Linked DNA regions of Homo sapiens: region 1 is linked to region 2. Evidence: promoter capture Hi-C in human tissues and cell types (Jung and others, 2019). All regions are on one chromosome and are shown on one strand. The core of a region is centred on a gene start or on the middle of the fragment in contact, and the rest is flanking DNA. Distances in the headings are between cores, read along the strand shown.

Evidence for each region. The method cuts DNA at HindIII sites, captures the fragments that hold promoters and counts their contacts. A contact is called where the count stands out against the background at its distance.
Region 1: a contact is called between a fragment that was not itself captured here and the fragment with the promoter of CAMK2D in region 2, in 1 of the 25 tissues and cell types used here (dorsolateral prefrontal cortex).

Annotation. Positions count from the first base shown.
Region 1 is chr4:113,310,075-113,314,449 of GRCh38, forward strand. ANK2 (ankyrin 2) reads left to right here. Exons shown (of 46, transcript NM_001148.6): 24 at 1,181-1,325. Among named protein-coding and RNA genes, the nearest start is that of MIR8082, 160 kb to the left of the region's middle. The HindIII fragment of the contact is 4,166 bases long and covers 1-3,694 here.
Region 2 is chr4:113,759,756-113,763,809 of GRCh38, forward strand. CAMK2D (calcium/calmodulin dependent protein kinase II delta) reads right to left here and starts at 1,983. Exons shown (of 21, transcript NM_001321571.2): 1 at 1,249-1,983. The coding sequence starts at 1,313. RefSeq lists a silencer at 1,770-2,179 and enhancers at 2,173-2,711, 2,712-3,250. The HindIII fragment of the contact is 17,098 bases long and covers 1-4,054 here.

The sequences.
Region 1 (4,375 bases), core at 362-2,861, 450 kb before region 2:
TATAAACCTTCCTCACCCTACCAAGGTGTAACAAGAGGGAAAGATAAATGGGAGAAATAAGAAAATTTGAAATGTAGGACCCATTTTATTAAGGAGTTTTGTGGATTTTTAAGGACCAAGAAGTTAAAGCTTATTTTGAGTTGTATTTATTCCCTGTGACCATCTTGGCTGCTGAGAGACAGCGGTGAGAACTGGCAAATTAGGAGAAGCAAGATGAAATGCAAAAGCAAACAGACTCTGAGGAGGGACAGGATGCTCGAACCTAAGTAGTATTCAGAATTTGGTGCTAGAATTTTGGGGAGTAGGGGTGGGGTAGAAGACTGGGGGAAAGAAAGAGTATATAAGCAGACTTTTTTTTTTTTAGATGAGTCTCACTCTGTCACCCAGGCTGGAGTGCAGTGGTGCAATCTCGGCTCACTGCAACCTTCATCTCCTGGGTTCAAGCAATTCTCCTGCCTCAGCCTCCCAAGTAGCTGGGACTACAGGCATGTGCCACCACGCCCAGCTAATTTTTGTATTTTTAGTAGAGACAGGGTTTCACTATATTGGTCAGGCTGGTCTTGAACTCCTGACCTCAGGTGATCCACCTGCCTCAGCCTCCCAAAGGGTTGGGATTACAGGCATGAGCCACTGCAGCCAGCCAACTTTTAGTTTTTAAATAATCTTTTTGGCTTTTTGCAAGGGATCCATAATATGCAGCTTGCACTGTGCTTGTATTATGTGACAGATTCTGTATTAAACCATCCCCTTCACCTTTTCATGAATAAGAATAGATGTAGTCTCCTGAAATGTTAATAAAACTCATATTTTTTTCTGAAAGTAATGTAGGCTTAATCCTAAAGCAGACTATGCCTGTGTTTTGATAAATCTATAATTAGAATTCATCTTAGAAGTTTTTTCTCCTAGAAGTAAACAACAAGGGATATCCAAACTTAATATTAAAAGAATTAAAATTCAAGTGATTACTTCTTCTTGGTAAGTACTAAGAAAATGAATCAAATGTTGTTTCTCTAAGTTTTAGCACTGTATAGTTGTTTGCTGGTGTTCTGTGTTCTAGTGTGCAGTGCAGTTTCATCAAGGTCAAGGTAATGATGTTGATGCATTTCACAATCATGACCATATGTTGTAGTTGATATTACATTCAAGAAATAATCCTGCTTCTTCCTCTGATTGTTTCAAGGTGATGACACAATGACTGGTGATGGGGGAGAATACCTTAGGCCTGAGGACCTAAAAGAACTGGGTGATGACTCACTACCCAGCAGTCAGTTCCTGGATGGTATGAATTACCTGCGATACAGCTTGGAGGGAGGACGATCTGACAGGTATCTCATAAAACTTATAATTGATGTCAGCCAGAAGTATGTGCAACATATTTTTTATGATGATGATAAAAATGTAGATGCAATTATTGAGCATTTAATAGGTACCTTATTAATCTCAGCAGTTAGCATGTTATGTTTTTCCATTGTCTAACAACTTTAAGATATGCCCATTTTAAAGAACAGAAAACTGAGGCCTAGAAAGATCAAATAACTTGGTAAAATCAAACAACTAGTAAGAAGCAAAACCATCATAAATAAGAGTTCTCATCATTTAAATGTGGCGTTTTTCATCACTGGCCACTTTTTCCTCAAATTAAAAGGACAATTTTGCCTTATAGACATTCTTACTGAGCGGCATCACAGACACTTTGGATACTCTTCTGCCCCCACTTTTTTGTTAGTAACATAATTTCTGTGAATAAAGTATGTTGTGAGGCTGAATTAAAAAGAAATACATTCAGAACAAAACTGCCTGGAACTGACTTTTTCATGAAAAAGAATCCGAACAGAATCCCACGAGAGCCTGGATACAAGAAACAATCGGAGCAAAATCTGAGGGAGCCCAGTGTTAATAGGCAAATCTGGGAGGTTTATATAATATTCTGAGATATATGATCAGTGCTACTTTTTGTTATTATTAACTAGTACAACTGGCACTTGTTATTTTTTTATGCAAGTTAGGTAATGACATTCTGTGGTTCCTCATTGAAATTATGACTGATAAGTTGGGCCATGAATATGGATGTCATAGCTGGGTGCAGTGGCTGGGTGCTGAGACCTGTAGTCTCAGCTACTTGGGAGGCTGAGTTGGAGGATCCCTTGAGCCCCAGAATTCAAGTCCAGGCTGGGCAACATAGCAAGACACTGTCTCTTGAGACAGAAAAAAAAAAAAAGAAAAGAAAAGAAAGTTTGTCCACGTAGTGTAATGTGTTCTGCTAATCAATAATCTCAGGTTTATAGTTTTAAAGTTGGCACTATTGTAAGCTATTTTATGAATATCCAGCATAGAGTCTAAGAAATAAATACCTTAAAGTCTAAGTGAATAATTAGCAAAAACAAACTTTTCTTGGGCTTTTTCCTTGAGCACCAATGCCCCCTTCCACTATCTTTTTTTTTTTCTTTAGCAAGATAGGCTTGTTAACTTCATAGTCTAATGGGATGGGAGAGGGCATAAGCTAGTGGTACACATAGAGTGCCACTGAAGCCCTGAGGCTCTAGCTTCCTGGAGCAGATGAAACCAAACTGAGACCAAATAATGAGTAACAATGGTGAGGAAAAGTGGGGAGGGCATTTGAAGCCTTAACAAGGTCTTGAGCAAAGGCTCGCAGGGTGTATGAGAAAAAAGGGAATGCAGTGTTGCTGGAGTGTAAGTGTGGAGGACGGGAATTATATTTGCATAGCAGGGGGATCCTTCTGCCAGTGAGAAAGAGGATGAATTTTAAAGGAGAGTTTCAAAGGGCTAAACCTGGAGATTGCAGCCACTCTGAGAAGCAATTGTTCGTGTATTAACTGCAGGTGTCATGAGAGGACTAGCACTCTAACCTTGGTGATAGTCATGGAGAGAATTTCAGAAATAAAAAATTTGAGAGTTTTTTGAGACATGTGTAGGAGGCAAAACTAGTCAGATTTCATGATGAATTTCATGATTTAGGTGAGGAAGGGGAAGGAGATTAAATTGAGTCCTTGGCTTCAATAACTTAGATAAAGGGTGCTCCCAGAAGGAGGAGCCCCTCTGGAGTTCCATAAGCTGTCTTGATACATTGGTAGATTTGGACCTTATACTCTGAGATTCTTAAAAGATTTCAAATTTGAATAAAGTGTAATGTTCATGGCATTGCACAAATTGATGATAATCTATGAACAGTCTTATTACTGTCAACCATAAAGCTTCTATTTTTTGCATGGTCTCCCTTATTAAGAATAAGTACTTGATTTGATCTGTTTTTCTTCTTTCAAAGTACTTAGGTTGAGGAAGAATTTAGAATAATACTTTCTATAAAACAGGATGGATGGCTTGAATGCTCCTGCTTAAATCCAATACTTTTCAGCACATAAGGTCAGGGGACATGAAACAAACAAGACATACTGTGTTCTCCAGGTCTCCACTTGCATTTCTAGATCACTAGATGTATTCACCATTTCCAAAATAGAGTGACAGACAGCATCTCATTTTCATGGTCTTCTTTTATTTTTAATTTTGCTTAGGCAATTCAATATAAGTTACCTTTTCTCAGTGACCATTTTTTCCTTTGCATTATTTCTTTATCTGAATTGCTTTCACTAGCACCATGCCCAGGTAGGTATTAACAGAGCATGGAAACAAGCCCTTCCTAGATTTATCCACATTTCCCTGCTCACTGCTAAACCTGCGTGTGTGTGTTGCCGGGGCGGGGGGTGAGGGGGAGCGGTGGGGGAGTGGGAGGGGGTGCTTATATTCTAGAATTATGGATTTATTCTAAAATAAATATTTTTATGTATTGAACTGAATAACTAGCTGAGCTAGAAGAGGTGAATATATTATTAAAATGTAAATCTGTGACATGACCCAGGTATTGCTTTGTTTCAACAATCACTGCTGCACCTGTGGTTGATAACACATTAGCATGGCTTTCCCCAAACAACCCCAATTAGCCTATGTGTAGTTGGAGAAGATAGAAAAAATATTCTGATGCCTAAAATATGCATAGATATGGAAGAATACAAATACATACAATTTAATGTACATTAAATACAAATACAACCAAGTTATGATTAGTTGGATTTTGCATCTGTTTTATTTTATTGTAGCTTACAAATTAAAAATGCTTTCCAAATTCAATGTAAAATACTAAATAATAATGAACCACAGAAGCTTCTTCATATCTTAAAGCAAATTTATTGAAAATTGTGGATTTCTACTCGTTAAGTTTGCCACTCCATTAATTGAATGTTTAATAAATATTACAGTTTACCAAGATAGTAATTATTATACTTTTCAATAAAATTACACTTTCATACCACCTATTATGTGTCCATAAAGCAGTTGTACCGTAGTAAAATAAAAAATATAA
Region 2 (4,054 bases), core at 733-3,232:
GAGCAGCAAAAAAATCTGCTGCCTACTTATTTTGGTAGGAAACAAAAAATTAATGTGGTTCCAAGTAAGTAAACATGACGATTATTTTCATTAAAATATAAATCTTGAGCACATTAGTGTGGTTTAACAAATCCTGGTATGGTGATTTCTCTATGCCTTGTTTTGGACTGGGGGAGGGGAGAGATTTGAATTAAGCTGCTCTTCCGACATATTCTCCATGTTTTAACACCAGACAATATATACATATGTAATTTTTATTACTTTTAAAAATATTTACCTTTCCTTTAATTACAGTATAAACCAACAACATACATATAAACGCACTCCTTTCATAAAAGTAACAGTCGAAACTAGTGAAAGAGGAATTGGGTTTGGGTTCCATGCTACAAAAATCAGCATTCACGGCTTGGCCCCTAGGTCCCTTTGCATAAGTCCTCAGTAGGTCTCCTGCCTCCTTCCCTAACATCTCCAAGTAGTTCTGCCAGTCGGGTGAAGGAGGTGGTTTTACACAATGCTAGGCTACGCTTAAGAGCGCTCTCAGTCTCCAGAGGGCTTTTCCGTTGCCTGTATAAATAAATCCTCCCAGAGAACGCAAAGATGCACACGTAAATCCTAGGAAGAATGATGGTGAGCGGTAATCTGGTGCAAAGAACAACACTGGATATAGGGCAAGGGGTTGGGTTCTGTTGGGTGGCCCTTTTCCTGGACAGAACAACTACTGGATGCGAAATAGACTCTATGCCAAGTTGAACTTTCGGCATCAATAAATATGGCACCGTCTGAGGCTGTGAGTTCTCATCAGTACCTGGGTCATACGGCCGACACGCCGGCTAACCAGGAGGCATCTCTATTTACAGAAAACATGATCTATGTTGCATTTTACATGGGTTCTAATTTCCTCTCCAAACACACATTACACACAGGCGCGCGCGCACACTTCTCAGGATGATAGCTACAACTGCAGAGATCGTAAATTCACTAAGTCTCTCAGTGCAGGAGGGTGGGGGACCGGGAGAAGGTGGGCTAGGGACCATCAAAATGAGCCACAGTTGGAGTAAGGGTCCTACCCCTTCTGTGCTCCCTCCCTTTATTAAGACAGCACCTTCCCCAGAGCTGACAAACCAGGGGCCCTCCTCCCATTCCTCTCCCAAACTCCCTCGCCCCAAGACGGAGGCCGGTGGGTCGGGGGCAACGCGACCCGCCCTCAGCTGGAAAGGGGATATGCGGATGCCGGGCAAAGGTGCTTACTTTCCAAGCTCCTCGAAAAGCTGATACTCGTCCGTGAACCTGGTGCAGGTTGTGGTCGAAGCCATCCTCGGTCCGGGCTGTGCCCTGGCTGGGAGCGCGACGGACCAGAAGCGAGCAGACGCGCGGCTAACCCCGGGACTGGCCCCGCGGCGCTGTCACCCAGGGCCGCTCTTACTTTCCTGGTCCGAAAGTAGCTCGCCCGCGAGGGAGTGTGCGCAGGGGCGGGGCGGGAGGGGAGATGACCAGAAAGGGTGGCGTGGGGTCTCCTCCCCACAGTCCGCCGATCCTCCTCCTCCTGCGGGCCTCGCTTCCTTCTTCTCCACTGGACGCTCCACCCGCCCCTTTTCCAGTCCCTGTCCCCAAATGCAGGGGGTAAAGTACTCAAGAAGAGGGGGCCGGGAAATGGAAAAACAGCCAGGCACGGGACGAGTGGCAAGCAGTTGCGAAACGATCCGCACTGGAGCAGGAGGAGTAGAAGCAGAGGGGAGGGAGTCCGAGGGGGCGGAGGTGGAGTGCAGCGGGGCCGAGGCCGCGGAGCCCAGAGCGGACAGCCTGAGCCCAGCGGCCGCTGTCAGCAGGCTCAGGCGCGGGGCGCGCCGGGGCTCCGACGAGCGTGCGCGCCCGAGGCCGGCTTCCCTCCGGCGGGCGGCAGCGGCTCCGGCGAAGCGAGGCACCTTGGCGGCCTCGCGCTGCTCACGAGCCCGCGCGGCTTCAAGACGGCGCGGCGAGAGAAAGAGCGCTCGGCTCAGGCGAAGCCTCTTCTGCCGTCCCCAGGCCTCCGTCTCCTCCTCCGGCGCCTCCTCCCGCCGCTCCCTCCGCCTGCCAGCACCCCCTCCCTGGCGAAGCCCCCTCCTCGCTGGTCCCACACCTCCCTCTAGCGACTCCAAGCCTGTCCCTTCGTGGATCTCTCGCACTCCCTCCTTTGGTTGCACACACGAGCACACCAGTCTAGGGAGAAACCAGGTGGGTGGAGGAGGATGTGCGGGGGAGAAGACTGGAGGTTTGGGTGAATGAGGCGAGAAGTCACAGTTACCCATTTAAACCCGCACAGAGAAGGCTGCCTCAATCTGGGGCTGACTGAGCGGGAAGATGCAGGGCAACTCGAGGATGGCCCGGGGCAGCCGCCCTGGGTCGCGGAAGCCCACGCCCCTGTTTTGGGCGCCGGGCAGCAGGGACTTCTCCAGGCCGGTTCCCGGGCCACGACACCCGGTGGGCCGAGCAAGGGAGAGCAACCACTTCATCTCCACGCCGCTCAGAGTTGACACAGCAGGGGCCGGATGTGGGCTGTTCACTGCTCTCAGAGAAGGGTCCCAACCCTTCCCACAGCCACCAGCGACTGTCGGGGCAAAACCCAGCCTCAGCAGGGTTCACTGCGTCGCCAGCTCCCCAGAACCGGGCGCAGGTTTTCTCCCTCCCCCGCAGCCCCTTCTGCAAGGGGCAATGACGGCCCCTGAGCCACATTACACTTGCCACCTCCAGGCCCACCTCCCCCGCTGTTTTCCAGGATGGTGGCTGAGACTCTGGCAATCCCCAAAGGCCTTTGCTTTGGCTGTGAACGTTAAAAGAATGAAAGCAAAAACTCCGCCGCACAACCACACCTTCCCTTCCCTTCTGAGTAACTCCCCTGCAACCTCAGTAAGTTCTGATAGTAAGGCGAATTCTCGCGATATTTCCCACTCTGGCGGTCAGGGGGAGGTAGTAGGAAGGCTGGGTGTCGGTCACGCGACCCGGCGGGGGCTGACGTCATTCACATCACGTGAACACGTCTAGACTGTTTCGCTTTGCAAAGGGAAAAAAGAAAAGGGGCCGTCGTGTGTGCTTTTGCTTTCAGCCAGATAGTGGCAATTGAGTGCACTCCGTAAATGGCTATCTGGAAAAACCATTTAGCAGTTCAAGAATGTGTCCTTCCCTTTAGCATATCTGCCATTGTTTTCAGTAGGAGGAAAAAAAAAGTATGCATTACGATTTAAAATAGATAAACTGCTGCCGATTGCTAGAACAACTTCTGGGCCCTCTTTCCAGTTCTCCTTAATGAAACTATGCAATTGCAAATTTAGCCGCAGACCAAAAACAGCGTTATGGACGGTCTTTTTCAAATTACTGCCAATTGTTCTACAGCACGGGACTATAAAAACCTTGCAATCCTATTGCTAATTTGCTCGTGGTATTACTTCATAGACAAAATTTCACAGCTGAAAGATAAAAGATAATTTGCAGACACAAGAGAATCTAAGATTTAAAGGCGCTGCTGCTTGCTCCCAAAGACTGCTATTAATTAATGTTACTTTGTGGTCATAGATAATCCTAATTCCTTTTTTCCTGATCTGGGGAACGCTTCTGCCAATGAGTGAGCTTTTTACTGAAGTACTAAAAATGTTCACAAATTTTAACGTTTATTACAACAAAATTGAAGTTCGTATGTGTTTTGATTCCCAGCCGTAAAAGGCAAGAAATAACTGTGTAAAATGTAGTGCTATAGAAAAAGATGATACCAAGAACTGCATAAAAGAAACATGGTCTCTAAATATTAATAATTGGGCTATAAATTGAAAAAAAAAACACAATTTGGTCTTGGCTAAAGATTTGTAATATCTGAACTATTTAGCAATGTGGCTCCAAGGTGATAATGAAATAATTTAATATTTTTCCCTGAATCTAAGAATGAAACAGAAAAAGTAAAATTAAAACAATAAAGGTAATATAAAAATTTACATCTGGGAAGAAAATTGTTTCTTAAATATTCAAGTAATGAAGTCTACATAATTACAGTATTTATCTCAGTTATTTAAACTACCAATAATTGTAA